2 separate regions of the Homo sapiens genome follow, and region 2 is linked to region 1. The links are contacts of gene promoters, found by promoter capture Hi-C in human tissues and cell types (Jung and others, 2019). All regions are on one chromosome and are shown on one strand. Each heading gives the region's core, a stretch centred on a gene start or on the middle of the fragment in contact. The rest is flanking DNA. Distances are from core to core; before and after follow the strand shown. Region 1 holds the start of FAHD2A (fumarylacetoacetate hydrolase domain containing 2A). Region 2 has its middle 8.1 kb from the start of LINC03052.

Region 1 (4,218 bases), core at 1,161-3,660:
GAGGTCTTACCCTGCGGACAGCCTGTTCTCAGGAGGGAACCTCAGGAGGGCTGCGGGTTGGCACAAGCTGTGGGTGGGCCAAAGCTCAAGGGCTTGGAAAAGGAGAGAATCTGAACCAAGGTTTGGTTACAGGCTTTTGTTCTTATTGATCTGTGGGACAAGCAGCCCAGCTAATCATTTATGAGGCCAAGAATGGGAATTTAGAGGGTCTGTGTCTGGCCTGGTCACAGATAAACAAGGGAGCATCTGGGAGTCTTATCCAGGTTATATAGAAAGTCACTGGTTCTTTCCAGTAGGGGGTTTTCTGGAACAAAAGAGTGGTGGGATTCCTTAACCTTCACTATTTCTAGAAGCAAAGGGCTAAGGTAAAATTCAATACTGTCAATAGTCAGGATTGAAATGGCTACATCATATGGTAGGTGTATGTTTAATTCTCTTCATACACTGACAAATGGTTTTCGATCGTGGTGGTACTATTTTATAATCCCATCAGCAGTGTACAAGAATCCCAGGTCCTCCACATTCTTGCCAGTACTTGGTATAATCAGTCTTCTTTGTCCATTCTAGTAGGTGTGAGATGGTGTCACATTGCGCTTGCAATTTGCATATCCTTAATGATTAATGATGTTGAGCATCTTTTCATGTCCTAATTTTTTCTTTCTTTTTTTTTTTGAGACAGAGTCTTGCTTTGTCGCCCAGGCTGGAGTGCAGTGGCACGATCTCGGCTCACTGCAAGCTCCACCTCCCGGGTTCCCGCCACTCTTCTGCCTCAGCCTCCCCAGTAGCTAGGACTACAGGCGCCCACCACCACGCTCGGCTAATTTTTTGTATTTTTAGTAGAGATGGGGTTTAACTGTGTTAGCCAGGATGGTCTCGATCTCCTGACCTTGTGATCCGCCTGCCTCGGCCTCCCAAAATGCTGGGATTGCAGGCGTGAGCCACTGCGCCCAGCCTTCATGTCCCAATTTTCTGTCTGTATATCTTATTTGATGAAATGTCAGTTCAAATATTTTGTCCATCTAAAAAATTGAATTGTTTGATTTTATCTACTGACTTTTAAGCATTCTTTCTATATTCTGGATACAAGTCTTTTTATCAAATATAGCCTTTACAGATATTTTCTTCCAGGCTGTAACTTAGCTTTTCAGAAAGTCTTTGGGAGCTATGGCTTAGTGAAACCCTTGTGCCAGGTTCTCCTCAGCGAATCCCCCTGATCACAGCCACCCCCATAGGTTCCATTTCAATATCTGTGGTGACCTTCTGCAAGCTAGGCTGAAGTCCCAAGCTCCAGACCCATGTCTCCAACTGCCCACCGTTCAATGCCCTTTGGATGTCCCATGCAAATCGGAGCTCACCATCCTCTCCCCAGACCCGCTGCTCCTCCAGGAGCCCTGTCTCCATGAACGGCCCTGCACCTACCGAGCTAGAGACCCAGGAGTTGGCCTTGTACCTCCTTCCTTCTCACTTCCACCTCCTGTCATTCAGAGCTGTCAGTTCTTCCTCCTGAACATCTCTGGACACTCACCTTCTCCACCACGCACCGCACCACCATTGTTCTCAACCGCACCACCCACCCAGACACCTTTCCTCAGACGGGTGGCCAGAGAAAAACTTCTCAAATAGAAGTCGGGACATGGCACGCCACTGAGAACCTTCCAGCGGTCTCCTGTGCACGTAAACAAGGTCCAGACTCCTTCGTGGGACAAGTAAAGCTCTTGATGATCTGGTCCTTGAGTAATGTGGGGGCCACTTGTACAGAGCCCCTCACACTGTTCAAAGTCGGCAGCTGAAGAGCTGAGCAGTAGCTGTCTGTGGAGTTCAGCTGCCACTCCCTACACGCCTGCCCTCTGCAGGGGATGGAGTCCCGTTTCCCCACTTCCCCACCTGCGCCCAGCAGTGCAGGTGAAGGCCTGGCTGCGGAGAGTGGCTGGGAAACGCTGCGCTTTGGGGTCAGGAATGCCAGCTCCACTACTCACCGCCTGTGTCACCCTGGGAAAACAGCTCTGGCCCCAGGTTCTCCATAAGTAAAACGGGGGCAGTCATCCCTCCCCTCCTCAACGACATATGTCAGAATCAGAAGCCACAAATCATTCTCTGCCACCCAGCACGCTGCCTTGGTCTCCTAGACCACTTTCCCCAACAATGGGAAAGGCGCCAGGCCCAGAACAAGGCCGAGACCGGATGAGGCCAGCGAAGCGCCCAGGGACAAACCTTCGGGCAGCGCCCACTCTCGAGTTCAGGCAAGTGCAGGGTCCCTCCGAGAGAGAGCGTCTCCAGAGAACGCGGCTGGCGCCTGGCTGAACCCGTAGCCTGAAGACCCGCCGGAGCCGCCCGCCCCACGATGGGCCCGCCCCTCCGGGATTGGCGCCCTGCTAGTGGCCATTGCCTGTGACGTCACAGGATCGCGCCCGCTTTTCTCTCGGGTGATCCGGCCGAGTGGCCCTGGGTTAGCAGCTGCTGCATTTCCCCGGCTGGCTGCGGTCACTGGTGGCAGTGCTCAGGCGCCCGCCGCCCTTGACCTTCGGCCCCGCGAGCTCTAACCCTACAGCGCAGGAAGATCGGCCGCCGCGGCCAGGTAGGACGAGCCTGGCTGGGTCTAGGCCAGAAGGGTGTCCGTGGCGCCGGTCTCCCGCGGAGCGCAGAACTAGTACCGGATCCCCAGCCGCTTCTGACCACACAGACGGGGCGGACCTGTGTGAGCACTCACTAACTGTCGGGGCTGGAGCTGGGCATATGGGGAAACTGGGGGACCGGCACGGGTTCCAGGCGAGTGGACGGTGGGATGGAATCCGACGTGCACACCCATGTCTCAGGCTTTGTTTGATGGAGGCTACTGTTTCCACCTCATGTCGCCGCCCCTTTGCTTATGGACTCTTGCAGAGTTGGATTGAGCTCGGGCTGTGTGATATAGTGGTTGTTGCAGAAGCCCCAGGGCCACTTTCTGACTAGTACCTTGGGCACCTGACATCATCCCTTTGAGTCTCAGTGTCCTCTTCTTTAAAGTGAGGGCGCTCTACCTGAGGAGATTGCTGTAAGGTTGGAATGAACCTGCATGTGTGTGTCATGTGGGAAGGGAACAGTCAGTGGGGCCTGGGGTTCTCTTGGAGAGCTGGTAACCAGCCTCGTCCCTGAGGCAACAGCCAGAGGGCGCCTGTAGTTTCCCCACGCATGTCTGTTAGCAGTTACGGCCTCTGGAGGATCTCCTGTGGGAGGTCCCTACTTCTCACTACAATCTTTAGAGACTTTGGAGGATTTCCTATGGAAGGTCCCCACTTCTCACCACAACATTCTGGGTTAAAATGGCCTTGGTAGGGGGATGGGGGCTGAAGCTGGATTTTTTTGCTTGCATTACAAGCTTCTGAACCAAGGACTTCATGTCACCTGGACTTGGATTCACATCCCAGCTCCTTCCTCTCCTAGCTCTAGGACTGTGTAACCTTGGGCAAATCTCTTAACCTCTTTAAGCCTTAATTGTTTCATCTGTAAAATGAGGCTAACAGTACCTACCTTCCACAATTGTCGAGAATTAAATCAGACATTGTAGGTAGAGCACTTAATAGTTGGCATTCAGCGGCAGCAGTTACTGTTATGTTAGCATGTGGAGTGTCTGAGTGTGTGCACATTGGCTCGAACAGCCTTTTGACAGTGGCACAGTTGGTGCTTGTGTAAGACAGCAGGGCAGAGAAGTCAAAGCCCTCGGTTTTCTAGTCAAACTGGTGGGCCACAACAGTGGTGACCTAAGTCTAATGAATCTTCAACTGAACAAGGCAGATTGAATCTCCAGGTGAGGACCAAGAGTCTGGGGATCAGCTGCCTCCACATTTTTGGGCATAGAAGGCTGTACAATACCGCCTTTGTTGTAAGAGCAAGGAACCATTCAGGGAAGGCACCATGTGGTAAGGAATAGAGGCCAGACGTGGATTAAGAACAAAACAAGAGAATAGTGTTTGTCTTTAAGTGGAGCCTTGGACTCAAAACAGGATCTGAGCCCTGAGGATTTTTTTTTTTTTAATTGAGATGGAGTCTTCGTCTGTCACCCAGGCTGGAGTGCAGTGGCGCGATCTCAGCTCACTGCAACCTCCTTCCCCTGGGTTCAAGCGATTCTCGTGTCTCAGCCTCCCTAGTAGCTGGGATTACAGGTGGCTGCCACCACACTCGGCGAGTTTTTTGTATTTTTAGTGGAAACGGGGTTTCACCACGTTGGCCAGGCTGGTCTTG
Region 2 (4,218 bases), core at 1,245-3,744, 130 kb after region 1:
GTTGAGCACGGATCTCTGAGCTCACACACTGGGGCATGTGCCACTGCTCTGACTCACTCCTTTAAAGAGGAAAATACAATTGCGCTTTCTAATACCAACTATTTCATCACAGGATTTAAAAACAAATAATCATTCAATGGAAATTCACCTTTAAAACCCTTTCCTGATATAGCAATGTATCTCCACATTCATGAGATAGGATTGAGCCATTTGTAGGGAATCTTTCTTATATTCTTTTCTTACTTCACTCACCTACCACCTGGGAAAAAACTAGTTCATGCACCTAAACATTTTTATGACTTGAAATCCACAATCATAAACAGCTGTGCTTCAAAAACTGCTGTATTGAGTCTGGAAGCACACTTATTCAATAGCCACAGGGAGGAAAAAGGTTAATTTTTCATAAAGGAGAACAGGAAATTATAGCCAGTTGAACCCATATGTATGCATATGCCAACAATTGAGTTTCCATAAGTTGTGTCTTCATTTTGTTAGAAATGGCTTGATCCACTTAATAGCTCTCATGCTACCCCAGTTTGCATTGAGACCAAACTTACTTGGTCAATATGTCTCCCAAATCCTGCAAAGAAAACAAGAAAAGCTTCAGAAATGGGCTACTCTTCCAACCCAACCTTTAGGTTTGGTAAAGTATAGAATAGTGCCATCCCTGAAATGCTTTGTAAATTCCTTTTCCTTTTCATTTCCAAAGTTGATCCCAGTACAACATATTTACAGGATGGCTTTAAACTCTTGATGAATTCAAAGCCCTGGTGGTGAATAGAGGAAAGGAAATGTGTGGCCATGCATTGCTGCAATCAACTGCCTACAAAGTGGACTTTCCCAGGGCTTGTTTCTAAAGGATAATATGTTATAAATTAAGAACAAACAGGAGGAAGAAATAAGTGTTTTTCTTCCCCAAATTCTCCATTTCGCTAAATTGGAGACAAAAATGGGATAGTCACAAATAAGTTAATTTTTTTCTGTTTTTGAAAAGCAAGCTACAAAAGAAGTTTACTAGAGGGTAATATTCTCTGTGGCCAATTTTGATAAATGGGAATAGAAAATTATATCCACTTAAAAATTCCACAAGCTTGCTTGTTCATGGTTAGGAAAAGAATTACATTTTGTCTATGTTATTTCTATTTGGAAAAGATCCTCCATCTTAGCAGCAGGAGCTAAATATTTTATATATATATATATATATATATATATATATATATATATATATATATGCATACACACATATACATATATATATATATATATATATATATGCATACACACATATACATATATATACACACACACATCTATGGTGTTGAATAAATAATATCACCTAAGCCAGTGGTGTGCAATCTTTTGGCTTCCCTGGGCCTCATTAGAAAAAAGCATTGTCTTGGGCCACACATGAAATACACTAACATTAACTATAGCTGAAGAGCTTTAATAAAATGACAAACAAAAATCTCATCATGTTTCAAGAAAGTTTAGGAATTTGTGTCGGGCCATGTTCAAAGCCATCCTTGGCCATGTGTGGCCCAAAGACCATGGGTTGGACAAGCTTGTTGTAAGGTATGAACTTCAAATAATATAAAAATTTTTTAGGCATGTTATTGGTTCTTTCCTGGAGCAGCTCCACATCTAGATCATGGCACATTTTCATCAGCTCCTTATAGATTTTTCTTAGGTGTTTTTTTTTTTCTGAACCATTTTGCGTTTTTGCTTTTCTTAAGTTGCTGTAAAATCTTTCTGTCATCCTCTGTAAGTTTCTCTATATGTTGTTTTACTTCTCATAGGGAACTGAATGCAGCTTCCTCTACTCAGCTCTGGTCATCTCTGCCCATAGCTGCACATAGCACTGCAGGGACCTGGATTTCCTAGATGACATATTTATTCTGACTTCATCCTCCTCCTCTTACACATCCTTTATTCACTTTAACTCAGGTTCTCTTTTCTTTATCTCTTTCATCTTTTCTTCATAATAAAGTTAGGGGTCTCACTATGTTGATGGCCAGGCTGGTTTGAAACTCCTGGTCTCAAGTGATTCTCCTGCTTCGGTCTCCCAAATTATACGGATTATGGACTTGAGACACCAAGCCTAGACTGACTCATGTATTCTACCAATAAGCTATGTACATAAATTTGTGTCTTCCTACTTCTCAGAACCATGAAATCAATCATTCCTCCCTTTCTTTCATTTATCTTTATTGTTTCTTAACAATACTAGAAGTCAAATTCATTCTTTTCTCATACCACTTTTATTCATTATATGACTTCCTGAAACACCTGAAGAAAGGTTATTATTGATCATTTCTTCAATATATACCCTTTGATATTGAAAAACCTACATGAGAGCCATTGGAATTAATGGTTGATTCACAGATAATTGTTTGCAGTATTATGATCTCTGTGTTTTTAAATTAGTCTTTAGTACCAAGTCTCCCTACTGCATAGCCTGACCACTCTCTCTGAGCAGTAATCAATGCTGCATTGTACCCTCAGGATTGGAAGCCATGAGAAAAAATCTTCCTCAAATCCTAACCAACACGATTTCCATTCAAGTGATAAGTGGATACATTTCTAGCATGTCTGTCTGAGGTTGAATCTGAGGGAAAAGGCCTAATACTTACAATCCACTGGCTGGGTTTCCTGCTTTTCTCACTTAAATTTCTTTGGTTTTCTTGAATTTTTGCCCATAAAGATCTCATTTGCTTCATGATCTTCTCCTGTAAAAGAACTATGAATGTGAACATCAGAGAAGCAAATCGTTTTGGGTTTCAGACCCCCAGTGATAAAGAAATCAACTGATGAGATATGAAAGATTTGGGAAGATCTCAGACTGTAGAACCACAACATGTAATGCAACAAGTTTATAGGAAAATCATAAGCAGGGCTAATTTATAGATAATGTGGCATCTTGCAGCAGAATTGGAATCTACTGACACCATGCCTTGCTAATTCTAGCATATTTTATTCTATTATTTCCAGTGTTGGTACATAGGTTTCTTATATAGAAGCCTTTTGAACTTGTAGTTTGGATAGCCAGAAACTCTTCCTGATATTGAGCTCTTTACAGTGCCTTGAACATTACACTAAATAGTCAAATTATTATAATGATTATTAACTTCATCACTCCTTCAGTGAAATGTAAGTTCAAGGAAGGAAGGTATTCTCACAGATTCCACTGAAATTTTTATCATTGATACCTAGGCACTACATGACATCCAGTACAGAACAGACTAATCATCATGCTCTTCAACTTCCCCCTAATCTCTTTACTTGTGCCATCCTCCAGCTTTCAAAGTGCTCTCAGAGCCATCACTTACCCAGTGTTCCTTAGCTGCCCCTCACAGTGTCTGTGATCCTGGTGCTCCTGAGTGTCCCAGAACAGCAAATGAAGCAGGCTCTTGTCCACCTCTTCAAATATCTTTTTGTCTCCCTGTGGGTTCCACACATTTGTTCATTAGAGCTCAGGAATTGCCAGAGACTGGTTTTCCTGGTAATGCACACTAGATTCTTCAGAAGAATATTGGTTTTGATGTCCTCCTGCTGTGATGGTTCCCTGAATGTGGGCAGCAGGTAGGAATTTTGGCTTCTTCCCAGGAAAGGCAGAGACAGGGTCTACAGAAGCTGGGGACACAGCCTGTGGTGATGGGATCTACGAGTTAGTTCAGACAGAAGAGACAGATGGGCTCTTTCTGGAAGGCTTGTGTGATCTCTGAGACCATTTTCCTGAAGGAAGGAAATTAGGAAAGGTATCATTCAAACTTCTTCATCTTATGCCCTGGAGAAACACAGACCAAAGCAAAATTTGACTCAGGTTGTAACTCAATGATAAACTTCTGTCTAGAGTAGAATAAGCTTTATTTTGTATAAGACAAAAATAGAACCTGAGGTACAAAGAGAGCTCTCAGATCTGTAGGTAAAATTGTTGGGTTCATGCATAACTCACAGGGCACTACATACTACCCTTTTCTTTTGCATAGAAGAATGAACCTCAGAGAGGCCAGGTGTGGTGACTTACACCTGTAATCCCAGCACTTTGGGATACCAAGGCTGGTAGATCAGGTTGGAGACGACCCTGGCCAATATGGGGAATCCCCGTCTCTGCTAAAAATGCAAAAATCAGTCAGGAGTGGTGGCACATGCCTATAATCCCAGCCACTCAGGAGACTGGGCAGGAGAATCGCTTGAACCCTGATGTTGCCGTTAGCTGAG

Evidence for each region. Contacts are between HindIII fragments. The study calls those that stand out against the background at their distance.
Region 2: a fragment that was not itself captured here is called in contact with the fragment with the promoter of FAHD2A in region 1 in 1 of the 25 tissues and cell types used here (dorsolateral prefrontal cortex).

Annotation. Positions count from the first base shown.
Region 1 is chr2:95,400,298-95,404,515 of GRCh38, forward strand. FAHD2A (fumarylacetoacetate hydrolase domain containing 2A) reads left to right here and starts at 2,411. Exons shown (of 8, transcript NM_016044.3): 1 at 2,411-2,575. RefSeq lists enhancers at 1,181-2,120, 2,050-2,129, 2,121-3,059, 3,200-3,319. The HindIII fragment of the contact is 15,771 bases long and covers 1-3,850 here.
Region 2 is chr2:95,532,766-95,536,983 of GRCh38, forward strand. No RefSeq gene overlaps it. Among named protein-coding and RNA genes, the nearest start is that of LINC03052, 8.1 kb to the left of the region's middle. The HindIII fragment of the contact is 3,299 bases long and covers 846-4,144 here.